5 separate regions of the Homo sapiens genome follow, and regions 2, 3, 4 and 5 are each linked to region 1. Evidence: promoter capture Hi-C in 16 types of primary human blood cells and fetal thymus (Javierre and others, 2016). All regions are on one chromosome and are shown on one strand. Each heading gives the region's core, a stretch centred on a gene start or on the middle of the fragment in contact. The rest is flanking DNA. Distances are from core to core; before and after follow the strand shown. Region 1 holds the start of CIROZ (ciliated left-right organizer protein containing ZP-N domains). Region 2 overlaps PEX14 (peroxisomal biogenesis factor 14). Region 3 overlaps PEX14 (peroxisomal biogenesis factor 14). Region 4 overlaps PEX14 (peroxisomal biogenesis factor 14). Region 5 overlaps PEX14 (peroxisomal biogenesis factor 14).

Evidence for each region. Contacts are between HindIII fragments. The CHiCAGO score rates a contact against its expected background, and 5 or more counts as called.
Region 2: a contact is called between a fragment that was not itself captured here and the fragment with the promoter of CIROZ in region 1, in 5 of 17 cell types (endothelial precursors, M1 macrophages, megakaryocytes and 2 more). The highest score is 9.1, in endothelial precursors.
Region 3: a fragment that was not itself captured here is called in contact with the fragment with the promoter of CIROZ in region 1 in 1 of 17 cell types (endothelial precursors); the score reaches 5.1 in endothelial precursors.
Region 4: a fragment that was not itself captured here is called in contact with the fragment with the promoter of CIROZ in region 1 in 1 of 17 cell types (endothelial precursors); the score reaches 5.5 in endothelial precursors.
Region 5: a fragment that was not itself captured here is called in contact with the fragment with the promoter of CIROZ in region 1 in 1 of 17 cell types (M2 macrophages); the score reaches 5.1 in M2 macrophages.

The regions. Positions count from the first base shown.
Region 1 is chr1:10,980,711-10,983,410 of GRCh38, forward strand. CIROZ (ciliated left-right organizer protein containing ZP-N domains) reads right to left here and starts at 1,366. Exons shown (of 13, transcript NM_001170754.2): 1 at 1,302-1,366. The coding sequence starts at 1,327. The HindIII fragment of the contact is 7,392 bases long and covers 1-2,700 here.
Region 2 is chr1:10,520,604-10,523,303 of GRCh38, forward strand. All of the region lies in intron 2 of PEX14 (peroxisomal biogenesis factor 14), which reads left to right. Among named protein-coding and RNA genes, the nearest start is that of PEX14, 47 kb to the left of the region's middle. The HindIII fragment of the contact is 2,132 bases long and covers 332-2,463 here.
Region 3 is chr1:10,488,487-10,491,186 of GRCh38, forward strand. The region is part of intron 1 of PEX14 (peroxisomal biogenesis factor 14); the gene reads left to right. Among named protein-coding and RNA genes, the nearest start is that of PEX14, 15 kb to the left of the region's middle. The HindIII fragment of the contact is 807 bases long and covers 883-1,689 here.
Region 4 is chr1:10,536,794-10,539,493 of GRCh38, forward strand. All of the region lies in intron 3 of PEX14 (peroxisomal biogenesis factor 14), which reads left to right. Among named protein-coding and RNA genes, the nearest start is that of PEX14, 63 kb to the left of the region's middle. The HindIII fragment of the contact is 1,146 bases long and covers 685-1,830 here.
Region 5 is chr1:10,586,605-10,589,304 of GRCh38, forward strand. All of the region lies in intron 3 of PEX14 (peroxisomal biogenesis factor 14), which reads left to right. Among named protein-coding and RNA genes, the nearest start is that of PEX14, 110 kb to the left of the region's middle. The HindIII fragment of the contact is 857 bases long and covers 904-1,760 here.

The DNA.
Region 1 (2,700 bases), core at 116-2,615:
ATGCCTGCTCCTGTTCTCCTCCTTGAGCATCAATCGGGAGAAAGATGTGGGTTTGGGTTTTTCCCCCTCACTTCTCAGACCCAGAACTGCCCCATCCCAGTCTGGGGGGAGACATGATGCTCCATCCCCCAAAGCTGAGCCCCCTCATGGGGCATCCAGGAGAAGGCAATGGGTCCCCAGGACAGGGCCCGGACCTCCCCCTTGCTCGCCCAGCCCCACAAAGCCCCACTCAGCTTCTCCACTGCCTTCATTGTCTACAGACTTCAACCTCACAAAACGCCCAACAAAAGCCCTGCAGTCCACGGCCCAAAGGCCACAAGCCAGCTATTGTGACATTCCAGCTGGCCTGGGAGGCTTCACTTCCCACTCTCAGGAGCTTTTTAAAGTATCTCTTAAAAATGCATCTCAGATGGGGAAAAGAGGTAGCAATTCTGTTGCCAAGGAAAATGAGATTTTGGCCAAGTGCAGTGAGTCATGCCCGTAATCCCAATACTTTGGGAGGCCGAGACAGGAGGATGGCTTGAACCCAGGAGTTTAAGACCAGCCTGGGCAACACAGTAAGACCCTGTCTCTACAAAAAAATTAAAAAATTACCAAAGTGTGGTGGCACATGCCTATGGTCCCAGCTACTCAGGAGGCTAAAGTGGGATGATCACTTGAGCCCAGGAGTTAAGAGATGACAGTGAACTATGATCTTGCCACTGCACTCCAGCCTGGGCAACAGAGCAAGACTCTATCTCAGGAAGAAGGAGAGACAGAGAGGGAGAGAGAGAGAGAAAGAGAAAAGAAAGGAAAGGGAAGGAAGGAAGGAGAAAGGAAGGAAGGCAGGGAGGGAAGGAAGGAAGGGAGGGAAGGAAGGAAAATGAAATTTTCTCCTAATCCTTACAATCGAATAGCTAGCGACCACAACTCCTATCATTTGAAAACTCCTTGAAATCAAGCATCTCTTGGTCAACTTGACCCCTAATTTGTTTTGTTTTAAGGACCCTCTAGGACAAGGAAGACGTGTTCTGTTTTCTCCCAATCTTCTGGAAATCCTTCCCAAGATGGGAGGACTGGAATTCCAGAACAAGGGATGACAGGAGCATGAGAAAGGTGGGAGAGACTGTGGCCGGACCTCACCTGAGAAAGTCAGCCCTTCCCAAGGCATCCATGCATCTGGGCCCCTCACCCATTTGGCCCCCTTCCCTCTTAGATGCAAGGCTTCTGATTCTGATGGAAGATATTTGGCTTCTTCAAGGAGTGTGGGCACACTAAGCATGCCACTGGCTTCTCCCAATTCCTGAATAAGGGACACTTACCAGGCAAGTGCTGGGGACCCCCACATCCTCAGGCCCAGCAGCTCTCTCCTGCCCTGGGAGAATTTAATCTGAAGCAGTTCCAAGCAACTAAACGAAAGGTTGGCTCCTCCCCTTCCCCTCCAGTGCAGGTCTCGGGTCACTCAGGTGCCAGAAAACACAGGTGGGTGTCAACACTCTCAGCTTCTCCCCATCCCTCTGCATGGGTGAGATGAATTGCTTCAGCCGTGGGAGCTCAAAATAAGATTGCGGATCAGAAGGCTGAAGATGAATTGATCCACTGAGGCTGGAGTGCAGGCCCTCATTCTCCGCTCCCGGGAGAAGCCTGTCTCTGTGCCCAAGGAAGGAAAGAAGCTAAGAAACTGAGCTTCACCGGAGGAACAGTCACGCTGTCTTGATGGGGCTTCCCAGAACCCTGCTCCAGGCCCCTCCTGGCAGAGTTCAAAAGGAGCTGAGGGGCCAGGCATGGTGGCTCATGCCTGTAACCCCAGCATTTTGGGATGCAGAGATGGGCAGATTGTTTGAGGTCAGGAGTTCGAAACAAGCCAGGGGAACATGGCAAGACCCTGTCTCTACAAAAAATTTAAAAACTAGCTGGGCATGGTGGCACACACCTGTGGTCCTAGCTACTCAGGAGGCTGAGGTGAGAGGATTGCTTGAGCCCAGGAGGTTGAGGCTGCAGTGAGCCCTGATTGTGCTACTGCACTCCAGCCTGGGCAACAGAACAAGACCCTGTCTAAAAAAAAAAAAAAAAGGGGCCGGGCACAGTCACTCATGCCCATAATCCCAGTGATTTGGGAGGGCGAGGCAGGCTGATCACCTGATGTCAGGACTTCGAGACCAGCCTGGCCAACATGGTGAAACCTTATCTCTACTAAAAATACAAAACTAGCCAGGTGTGGGGGTGCACGCCTGTAATCCCAGCTACTTGGGAAGTTAAGGCAGGAGAATTGCTTGAACCCGGGAGATGGAGGTTGCAGTGAGCCAAGATCGTACCATTGTACTGCAGCCTGGGTGACAAGAGCAAAACTCCGTCTAAAAAAAAAAAAAAAAAAAAAAAAAAAAAAAAAAAAAAAAAAAAAGACCAGGCGCAGTGACTCACGCCTGTAATCCTAGCACTTTGGGAGGCTGAGGTGGGTGGATCATCAGGTCAGGAGTTTGAGACCAGCCTGGCCAACATGGTGAAACCCTGTCTCTACCAAAAATACAAAAAATAGCCGGGCTTGGTGGTGGGCACCTGTAATCCCAGCTACTCTGGAGGCTGAGGCAGGAGAATCGCTTGAACCTGGAAGGCAGAGATTGCAGACAGCTGAGATCGTGCCATTGCACTCCAGCCTGGGCGATACAATAAGACTCCGTCTCAAAAAAAAAAAAAAAAAGGAAGAGGAGATTAGGGCACGGA
Region 2 (2,700 bases), core at 148-2,647, 460 kb before region 1:
CACCTAATTGCATCAAAACCACTCTAAGTTCATGTATGTGGAGCCCATCAAGCTGAAAGCATCCAGACAGCATCTGCTGTTATCAAATCACTCGTGAATCCAGCTAATTAAAATAGAGCTTCATTTTTCTGAACCATTGTTTGGCAGGAATTCGAAACGGGTCTAACCCAATTTCTGCATGTTTATGAGCCTTTATTATATCAGAGGTACTTTTCTGTAAATGTACAGGGCAGCGTTAAATGAATTGATCCACACAGTATCACTGTAGACGCACTATGGACTTGCTAATGATTTCTCTTCCAGCTTTCTGGTTTCCAGACATACTCTTGAAAGCTTTATCTTCTCTTTTTCTATCCTCTGCTCTTTGCCGTTGTCTTTTTTTTTTTTTTTAAACATTTTGAACTTTCCTTTTACTTTTTAATCTTCTTTTTTCTTTGGAAACAGGAAAACTATCCCCTTAAAGAAGTTTTCTTTTCCATTTCTCTTTTTCTTCCTCTCTTCCTGTTTTTGTTTTTCTTCTAGTGGATAAGATTTGTCTTTTCTTCCTTTATTTCTTGCTGTTTTCTATTCTCTCCTTTTCTTTTCTTTTTCTCTCTTATCTTTTCTCCCTTTTATACTTTCTCCCATTCCTTTTCTCTAACCTTCTCTTTCTCCTTTTTCTCTTCTTTCTATCTCCTCCCATTTTCCCTAATAAAATATCCTTATACCTTTGTCTCCACATGCAAATACTGACTAGGGAAGATGGGGGTGCCCGTGGAGGCAGAGCTATCTGGCTGCTCTAAGATGATGTCAGCTGAGTTTACTTCTCTGAATTTGCTTTCATGCTTTATTTTAGGTTTTAAAAAGATTTTTCAAGCCACATCTACTCTACTTTATAGTCTGTAATCCTACTTTGAAGATGAAAAGTGTTACATAAATGCTAACTAATTATTCCTTATACCACTTTGTGAGTCTCTAAGCAGTATTAGTTCCAGTTTACAGATGAGGAAGCAGGAACGGGAAAGGTAAGTAGCTCTGAAAGTTACTGAAGAAGTTGGTGACTGAGTTAGAATTAAACCTGGCTCATCTTTGGCTTTGCTTTTTGATTACCACCTTATGGGTGTTGACTTTTTTCCCCCCTAAGAATCATACATATTTAAGGTGAGGTTGAGTGAATACCATCCCCTTGGCCCCTTCTCATTATATACTTTTAACCTTCTGAAGTTTCATTTGTAGTCTTTAGATGTTAAATGAATTTCTAGGTAATTCCTGGGAAAGAAGGATGCTGAACCACTTGTGGGCTGGTAAAAACCCTGTCTATTAGTCTTAAAGCAGAGTGCTCACTTTCTCTTTCCAACAGCTTCCAGTAAGTGGGCCCACGTCACACACTGGCCCCAGTGATCGTAGTGTTGTAGGAAGCGCTGCCATATTTGATTGAATTTAGCCATTCTGGAATGACGTGTTCATGAAGTCGGCTCTTGCATTACCGTGGCCTTTATTATTGCTAATGCATTCTGACATTACAGGTGTAGCCTTGGCTCTCCCAGAAAGGGCAAGGCTGCTCTTACCAAACGAAAGAGCAGAATTTATGAAACTGTTACACAGTGAGGCCAGTGTTCACCTTTAGTTACTAAGCAGAGTAAGGGAAATAAATGCTTTTATAGAAAAGATAGCCAGTGACAGCAGTCTATCCTGATTCCTCACCCAGCACTGTTTCAAAAAGTGGATCAATTAATATTGTTGCCAGACAGAGAACGAGGACCAATGGTTAGGAGGTTCAGGAAAGTAGATTTCAACTCAGTTTAAAGAGGCACTCCTGAAAATGAGCTGACAGTCTCTTAAGGGAGTAGTTTCCCTGCTCATTATGAGCATTCAAGAGGAGGCTTCCTGATCATTTGTCAGGGTTGTTGGAGAGGGGAGTCCCTAGGTCATGGGTGGGACCAGATGGCTCAAGATCTCTTTTGGCTTGTTTCCTCATCTTAGATTGCTACAGCACAAACAGCATCTTTCCTGCTTCTATTTTGACTTTACAAGTGGCTGGTGTACCGTGAGGACCTGTGAATGCTCAGTAGCTATTCATTATTTAATCTCTGGCTTCCTGCTTCTTAATCTAACATGAATCAAAGCTGTTCTTGTTCAATTCAGGAAAACCACCATCTCTGGCACCTCCTAGAATGAGGCATTCTGGATAGTTACGTTTTCTGGATGGTCATCAGGAGCCATTTGAAAGCAGAACAAACAAAACACTTTAAAACTTTTGGCTGGGAATTATGTAAAATGGATTACATACTTTCTTGCTTTATTAAGCTGAATATCTGGAATATAATTTAATCGTGATGACTCAGTATTGTCATTTTAGATGAACGTGTTTATATGGTGTTATAAGCATAGCTGTGTTTTCAAAACCTGTTGAAATATAGATGTGTTGTATATTTGCCCCTACTTGAAATGACTCCACCGATTCTAAATGACCCCAGACTAATAAGCTTTTTGAATTTTTTTGTTTGCTTTTCATGGATGTTTCTCTCTTGGCATTTGCTGTTGGGCTTTTTTTTGCTGTCACATCTTTGTTTGGTGTTTCTGTACTAGCTGGCTCCTTCCTCTCTGTTCTTATTTGCAGCTTTTATCTTCTATGATTTGGATACCAGATAACTAAGCTTGTATATAAAATAAATAGTAAGTAGCGTGAGTAAAGCTTCGCAGCGTATAAAATATATGGAA
Region 3 (2,700 bases), core at 36-2,535, 490 kb before region 1:
CATGTCTAGAAATTCTATTTTCTTTTTTTTTGAGACGGAATGTCACTCTGTCGCCCTGGCTGGAGTGCAGTGGCGTGACCTCGGTTCACTGCAAGCTCTGCCTCCTGGGTTCACCCCATTCTCCTGCCTCAGCCTCCTGAGTAGCTGGGACTACAGGTGCCCGCCACCATGCCTGGCTAATTTTTTTTTTGTATTTTTAGTAGAGAAGGGGTTTCACCGTGTTAGCCAGGATGGTCTCGATCTCCTGACCTCGTGATCCATCCGCCTCGGCCTCCCAAAGTGCTGGGATTACAGGCGTGAGCCACTGTGCTCGGCCTCTATTTTCTTTTTATACCTTACATTTCTCTTCTTACTGTGACATGTTTTCATTTAAATACTTGAGTATAGTTGTAACACCTGTCTTACTGTTCTTGTCTACTAGTTATATCGTCTGGTTTTTCTTATTGTTATTGGTTACATTTTCCTGCTTCTTGACATATGTTGAAATTTTTAAATTAAATTTTATGTTTTTGAGACTGAGTTTTGCTCTTGTTGCCTAGGCTGGAGTGCAATGGCGCGATCTCGGCTCACCGCAACCCCCGCCTCCTGGGTTCAAGTGATTCTCCTACCTCAGCCTCCCAAGTAGCTGGGATTACAGGCATGCACCACCACACCCGGCTAATTTTTGTATTCTTAGTAGAGACGGGGTTTCTCCATGTTGGTCAGGCTAGTCTCGAACTCGTGACCTCAGGTGATCCGCCCGCCTCAGCCTCCCAAAGTGCTGGGATTACAGGCGTGAGCTACCGTGCCTGGCCATGTGTTGAAATTTTTTATTGGATGCTGGATATTGTGAGTTCAGTATTGTTGAGGTTATGGATTTTGTGGTCTTTAAAGAGTGCTTAAAGCTTTTTTCTTCTGTGCAGTTTTTTATGGTTTACTGTTATCATTTTGAGTCCTGTTTTTTAGCTTTGTTAGAGTGGATCTGGATAATCTTTAATCTAGGGATCATTTGACCTCTGGTCTCTCCTGAATGCCCTGTGAGGACACTCCAGTCTGGCTGCTTGGGACTCATGATTCCCCTGAGAGTTCTAAGAAATGTCAGCTCCTAGCTTCTTCTTCACTGTGGAGTTTCACCCTATGCATGCACAAATTTTAGTATTCAGCAGAGACCTGAGGGAACCTCCAGACAGATTTCTGGACCACTTTTTCTGCATAGCTCTTTCTTTCTGAAGTCTGTCCTGCAGCTTTCAGCTGCCTTGGCCTCCCTGAACTCTGATCTCTGTCTCTTCAACTTAAGTGGGTGGCGTGCTCTGCTGGGGATCCCCGTCTCTCTCCAGGGCCTGAAATGTGTCTCCTGGCAGGAAGCCAGAGTGATTTTAGGGCCCAAGTAATTTGTTTCTCTGCTTTCAGGGATCGTAGTCCTGCACTGCCTGCTGTCCAATGTGTACACACAGTGGTTTTATTTATTTGGCTTAGTTTTCTAGTTGTTTACAGTGGGAGGGCAAATCTGTTCCCTATCACTCCATCATGACCCGAAGTGGAAGTGCATTGGTTGACTTTGAGCAGAGGAGTGACATGAAATAACTTATCATCTCCTCTAATCCCAAATGTGAGGTGGTGGTATTATTCCCGTTATTCCCATAGATGAGGAAACTGAGGCTCAGAGAGGTTGAGCAGCGTGCCCCCAAATCACTGAGTTCTTAATGCCAAAGCTTGTGTACTTTCTGTCATGCCACTGCATCTCAAAGGATATTGGTGGGATCGAATCTTATTCTTCCCAGCAGAGAACTACACAGACTGGCTTAGGACCTATCTGGAGTCACAGTCACCGGGCAGATGCAGGATGGGTTCTCCTATCTGAAGTCGCAGTTACTGGGCAGATGCAGGATGGGTTCTCCTAGACCTGGAGCTTTCGCCAGTTGCTCAAATCTGTGAGCTGCTTGTGAGGTTGTTCTTTGTTGGACAGCAGGTCAGGATCTGGGAACGCCTTCCAGTTGGGGAAGGTCAGCGCCTTGGCAGCAGGAGTGAGAGCACCTTTGTCTCTACCAAAAGAAAAGCATTTCTCTCTCTGCCGCCGTAGTCTTTGCCTGACTTGTTTTTTTAAAGCAGTTTTCTGCTTTTGCTTTCTTCTCTTCCTGCTCTCCCCATTCAGGCCTCTAAGGATCCTGGGCATGGATTGCCTTAGGTCCTTTTCTTACATCGTTACAATAGATGCCTGTGGGTGGTTTCTAAGCCTTTTTTTTTTTTTTTTTTTCTGAGACAGTCTTACTCTGTTACCCAGGCTGGAGTGCAGTGATGTGATCACAGCTCACCACAGCCTCAACCTCCTGGGCTCAGTTGATCCTCCCACTTCAACCTCCTGGGTAGTTGGGACTTACAGGCATGTGCCACCATGCGTGGCAAATTTTTGTATTTTTTAGTAGAGACAGGGTTTTACCATGTTGCTCAGGCTGGTCTCGAACTCCTGGGCCCAAGCGATCCTCCCACATCGGCCTCCCAAAGTGCTGGTGTGAACCACCATGCCCGGCCTTGTTTTTTTTTTTTTTTTAATCATGGACTACTCTGTGAAGATTTCCAGGATCAGTTGGAGATGAGGTTTTGCTATGTTGGCCAGGCTGGTCTTGAACTCCTGACCAGGTGATCTGCCTGCCTCGACCTCCCAAAATGCTGGGATTACAGGCGTGAGCTACTGTGCCCGGCCTGCTTCGATTGTTTAAACAG
Region 4 (2,700 bases), core at 8-2,507, 440 kb before region 1:
TATTTCTGTAAACAGGGATAAAGTGGACCCTGACAAATTCAATATTGTCTGAAGAGACAATCTATTCTGGTTCTGTTGGACTTCAGGGTATTTTTCTTTTTTTGTAAAATGAAAACTACAAAGAAACCTGACTTTTCAATTTTTTATACATGTAATTTTCTAGAAATCTAGGAAGTCATTTACACATCCTTATATACCATGATGGGCAAAAGTAAGCTTTCTTCCTCCCAAAGCAAAACTCTTTTTCCTTAAGGAGCTGGAATGCCAGCCTTGAAATTCTGAGTTTTGAGCTTTCAGTCATTTTTGGCTGGAATAGGTGGGTGATATTTCCTAGGTCTGCTCTGTGATGTCCCGCTGAAGGGATGCAGCATGAACCATTGGTCCCTTCATGCGATCATGTCCCGGGGCTGCACTAACAGGGTTTGGGCAGAAGAAGCCCAAACATTTCACCACAGGCAGCTGCTTCGCGGCAGCCCCAAGGCTGGGTCCCTGCGACAGAGTTGGTAAGGAGCACTGCACGGCTGCTCACTGGCTGCATTGTGCCAGCACCCCCCCCCCCCGCCATCATTAGGAGATTATTAAAATTTGGAGTGTGTTGGCTGGCCTCGCCACTCCGCAAGCATCATGCCATAAAAGAGTTTTTCCTTGAAATATGTGTACCTATGGGGAGTAATTAATCATAAAAGCTTAGGGATTTCAGCTCTCTCATCAAAGCATTGAAGCTGGGGAAAGCTGAGCCTAAAAGCTGAGCTGATTACCCGGGGTAACCTGAGACAAAATCTATGGTTGCCGAGAGATCCTTAGCTCCAGTATATTGTGCAATATTATAACTGCCTGATCTTCTCTTCCACCGACAATGACCAGTTAGTCCTCATTTTCTCTCAAACGCAGCTGGGTTAGAATTTCATTTGCAGAAGGTATTTAGAGCAATTTAGAGACAAATGTCTCTGGTGTTTGCTCGGCACTTCCCCACCGCAGGCTTTGCTGAGCAGTTTTAGTATCAGGAGCTCCATCTAATCTGTTTAATTTTAATAAATCCCTGACTGGGAGAGGGAGTGAAAAAAAAAAGAGAGAGAGAAACTCTGGACCAAATAATACTTCTTTTGAGTTACTTGGCTAATAATTACTGTAGAGAGAAAACTTTTTGTGCAATTATGATTCGTTGCTCCTTTAGCAAAAAAAATCCAACTGATCAATTCATCCAAGAGTCATTGTGCACCCTATGCCCTGTCCCTGGACTCCCATCAGGAATTTAGCAGAGAACCGAACAGACAAAATCCCTGCCCTCGCAGAGCTTAAATTCTAGTGGAGGGAAGGCAGACGATTAACAAATGGGAAAATGAAATAGGTCGGATGTCAGATGCCGAGCGCCATGGATACTGATGAATGAAGCAGGGAGCCGGGGTGAGGAATGCCAGAGTTGGTGTGGGCTGGACTGTGATCTTAAACAACATGAATGTCAGAGTGTCTCTAAGAGGGTGGCACATGAGCAAAGACTGGAAGGTGACTGTTTATTGGTACAGTGGACATAATTCCTTCTTGACCCCTAATTTGGGTTAGAGTTTTTAGAATTTTAGGCATCTGGCACCTTGAGATGCTATCCTGCCCTTCGTCCTCTAAAGAGAACCATGTGAGTTTATCCCGTACTTAAACCTGGAATCTCTGAGGTTAATCACCCATCTCCATTATCCTCTAAAATGCTGCTTCAGTCAGTAATTATCCATTTCCGAGTTGAATCCCAATGGAGTAGGTTCTGGCAGGACCTTTTCTGGGCAGAGAATTCCAAGGTTTGATCGGTGTCTGGGGAAGAAAAGCCCCTTCGCAGATTTAAGCTTCACTTTTCAAATTTCGGGCTGTTCCAGGGTCAGGTTTCCGTGCTCAGCACGGCCTGGCACCGTCTCCGATGGGGATGAGGGTGAACATCTACTGGGTCCCTAACAGTAGTTGTGGCAGGAAAGCAAATTGGCTCGCTGGCCGTCTGGACCAGGAGGGGCCTGGGTTCTGGCACCCGTGCTCTTGGACTCCCTGCAGAAGCCTTGCAGTGCTGGGCTTGGAGCATGGGCTCTGGGAGGGCTCTCAGCTCCTGGAGTCTTGGCTTTTCCTAGCAATGTCACTTCAGGGAATTGCAGTGGAGCACTGACTTGAATTATAATCTTGACTTTCTTTTTTTTAATAAACATCTCTTTCCTGAAAAGGCAAATCCAATTTTGTTTTTCTTTTAATATTATTTAATATTTAATATAGAAATTGAGGTCCCTGTAGTGCATGTCAGTTCAGTGGAAAATGAGGCGCATCAGCTGAGTTTGTTTCATTGTGAAACCGCAGCTGGGAGCAGGGGCTGCATCCTGTCCGTGTTACCGACTGGTTAAGTGTTGTGCTCTGTGACTTCTGGTGGGGGTGCTGGGTGAGGGTGAGTAGGGAATGAGTGGTATAGGGATGGAAGAGCATTGGTTTGCAAAGGTCTTTCCTGTTACTTTTTTTTTGTTTTTTGTTTTGAGATCTCTTTCGGATGCTTTAAAATCTGAACATGGAGCCATTAATGAGAAACGTGAAGTTATTAGAATCATTTATCATTTTCTTTGAAGTTTGTACTGCCATTTTGTGTAATTTACAACATTTCTTCCTTTTATCGGGAATATTTTGGATGAAAGAAAAAAGCAGCTGCTCACCTTCAGAGTATTAGAATAAATGTTTTTGTTT
Region 5 (2,700 bases), core at 82-2,581, 390 kb before region 1:
GTTGAACAAAAGGAGCCGTTTACCTTTTTTTTTTTTTTTTTTTTTTTTTTTTTGAGACGGAGTCTCGCTCTGTTGCCCAGGCTGGAGTGCAGTGGCGTGATCTCTGCTCACTGCAAGCTCCACCTCCTGGGTTCACGCCATTCTCCTGCCTCAGCCTCCCGAGTAGCTGGGACTACAGGTGCCCACCACCATGCCCAGCTAATTTTTTTTGTATTTTTAGTAGAGACGGGGTTTCACCATGTTAGCCAGGATGGTCTCAATCTTCTGACCTCATGATCCACCGCCTCGGCCTCCCAAAGTGCTGGGATTACAGGTGTGAATGCTTTCCGTATTATCCCACATATATAAAATTCAAAAGCAAGCAAACTGAATCTGTGGTATTAGAAGTTAGGTGGTGACTGGGAGGAGACAAGGGATGTTGCTAGAGGCTGTTACTCTATTTTTTGATCTGGATGGTAGTTACATAAGTGTGTTCACCGTGGGAAAATTCATTAAGCTGTACACTTAAAAATGTGCATGCTTTTCTGTATATATTCAATGCCAACAAAAGTTTCCTTAAAATTATAATGAGGCTGTGTGTGGTGGCTCACGCCTGTAATCCCAGCACTTTGGGAGGCCGAGGCAGATGGATCACGTGAAGCCAGGAGTTTGAGACCAGCCTGGCCAACATAGTGAAACCCTGTATCTACAAAAATACAAAAATTAGCAGGGCTGGTGGCACACTCCTGTAATCCCAGCTTCTCGGTAGGCTGAGGCACGAGAATTGCTTGAACCTGGGAGGCGGAGGTTACAGTGAGCCGAGATGGCACCAGCCTGAGTGACAGAGTGAGATTCTGTCTCAAATAAATAAATAAATAAAATAACGAGACAATTTTTTAACCTTTCAGAATGGCAAAGATAAAAAGCTTAATAGCATCATGTAGGCAAGGTTGAGGGAATGTGAGTGGAAACAACCTGGAAGAAGGTTTGACAGGTCTTATTAAAATTAAAACTGCACACATCTGAGTCTATTCCTAGGGATATAGTTTACACATGTACAAGTGGTATATTCAAGGTCCTTTATTATGGCTTTGTTTGTAGCAGTAAAGGTTCAGTAGGGGATGTTAAATAAATTATAGTACATCCATACCAACCATATAGCCATTAAATAGAATGAGAGAGCTCTGTAGATACTAATATGGAGTATCCTCCAAGATAACCTAATTAAAAATAGCAAGGTATAGAACAGCATGTATAGCGTGCTATCATTGTATAAAAATATACGGACACACATATGTATACACACATGTGCTTTTTTTTTTTTTTTTTTTTTTTTTAAAAAAAAAAGAGATGGAGTCTTGGCCAGGCACAGTGGCTCATGCCTGCAATCCTAGCACTTTGGGAGGCCGAGCGAGTAGATCACGAGGTCAGGAGTTCAAGACCAGCCTGGCCAAGATAGTGAAACCCCATCTCTACTAAAAATACGAAAAAATTAGCTGGGCGTGGTGGTGCCTGTAATCCCAGCTACTCGGGAGGCTGAGGTAGAGAATTGCTTGAACCCAGGAGGCTAAGGTTGCAGTGAGCCGAGATTGCACCACAGCGCTCCAGCCTGGGTGACAGAGCGAGACTCCGTCTCAAAAAAAAAAAGACATGGAGTCTCACTATGTTGCCTAGATTTGAAATCCTGGACTCAAGCAATCCTCTTGCCTCATCCTCCCAAGCAGCTGGGATTATAGGTGTCCACCACTGTGCCCAGCTACATGTATGCTTTTTATATAAGAAGCTTTAGCAATAGTTGCCCCTGGAGGATGTAACAGGGTGGCAGGAGTGGGAAGGAGACTGATTTTTCACGATAAAGTGGACCCCCTTTATCCATAGTTCTGCCTCTTATGCTTTCAGGTACCCGAGGCCAACCAAAGTCCAAAAATGTTTAAATGGAAAATTCCAGAAATAAATGATTCATAAGTTTTAAATTGTGTGCCATTCTGAGTAGCTTGATGAAACCTCCTGCTGTCCTACCTGAGATGTGGATCATCCCTTTGTCCAGCTTATCCATGCTGTGGACGCCTCCACCTGGCAGTCACTTAGTAGCCCTCATGGTGATCAGATCGATGGTCATGGTATCCAAGTGCTTGTGTTCAAGTAAGCTCTATGTTACTTAATAGTGACCCCACGTGCAAGAGTAGTGATGCTGGCAATTCAGATATGTCAAAGAGAAGCCGTAAAGTGCTTCCTTTAAGTGAAACAGAGAATGCTCTTGACTTAATAAGGAAAGAAAAAAAATCATATGCTGAGGTTGCTAAAATCTATTGTAAGAACAAATCTATCCATGAAATTGTGAAAGAGGAAAAAAAATTTGTGCATAGAATGTACAGAATTTTGTATTATCTGTGGTTTCAGGCATTCGCTGAGTGTCTTGGAATGAATCCCCCCACAGATAAGGGTGGGCTACTGTATACCCTTTTATATCTTTAGAATTTTATACAGTGCAAATATTTTTTAAACATTAATTTTAAAAATAATTGTTAAAAGTCCCTTAGAAAGATGTTCTCTCAGTAAGTTCAGTAGAGCCCACATTTTCCGTCACACTGAAACAGATCTTTGGTTTAATACCAGACGACATAGTCTGCATTGCATGTGAGTGCCAAGCTGTGTGGGGGAAAATAGCCTGTGACATGGTGCTCAGATTGCAAGGGTATATGGGAATGAGGTGATGAGGGC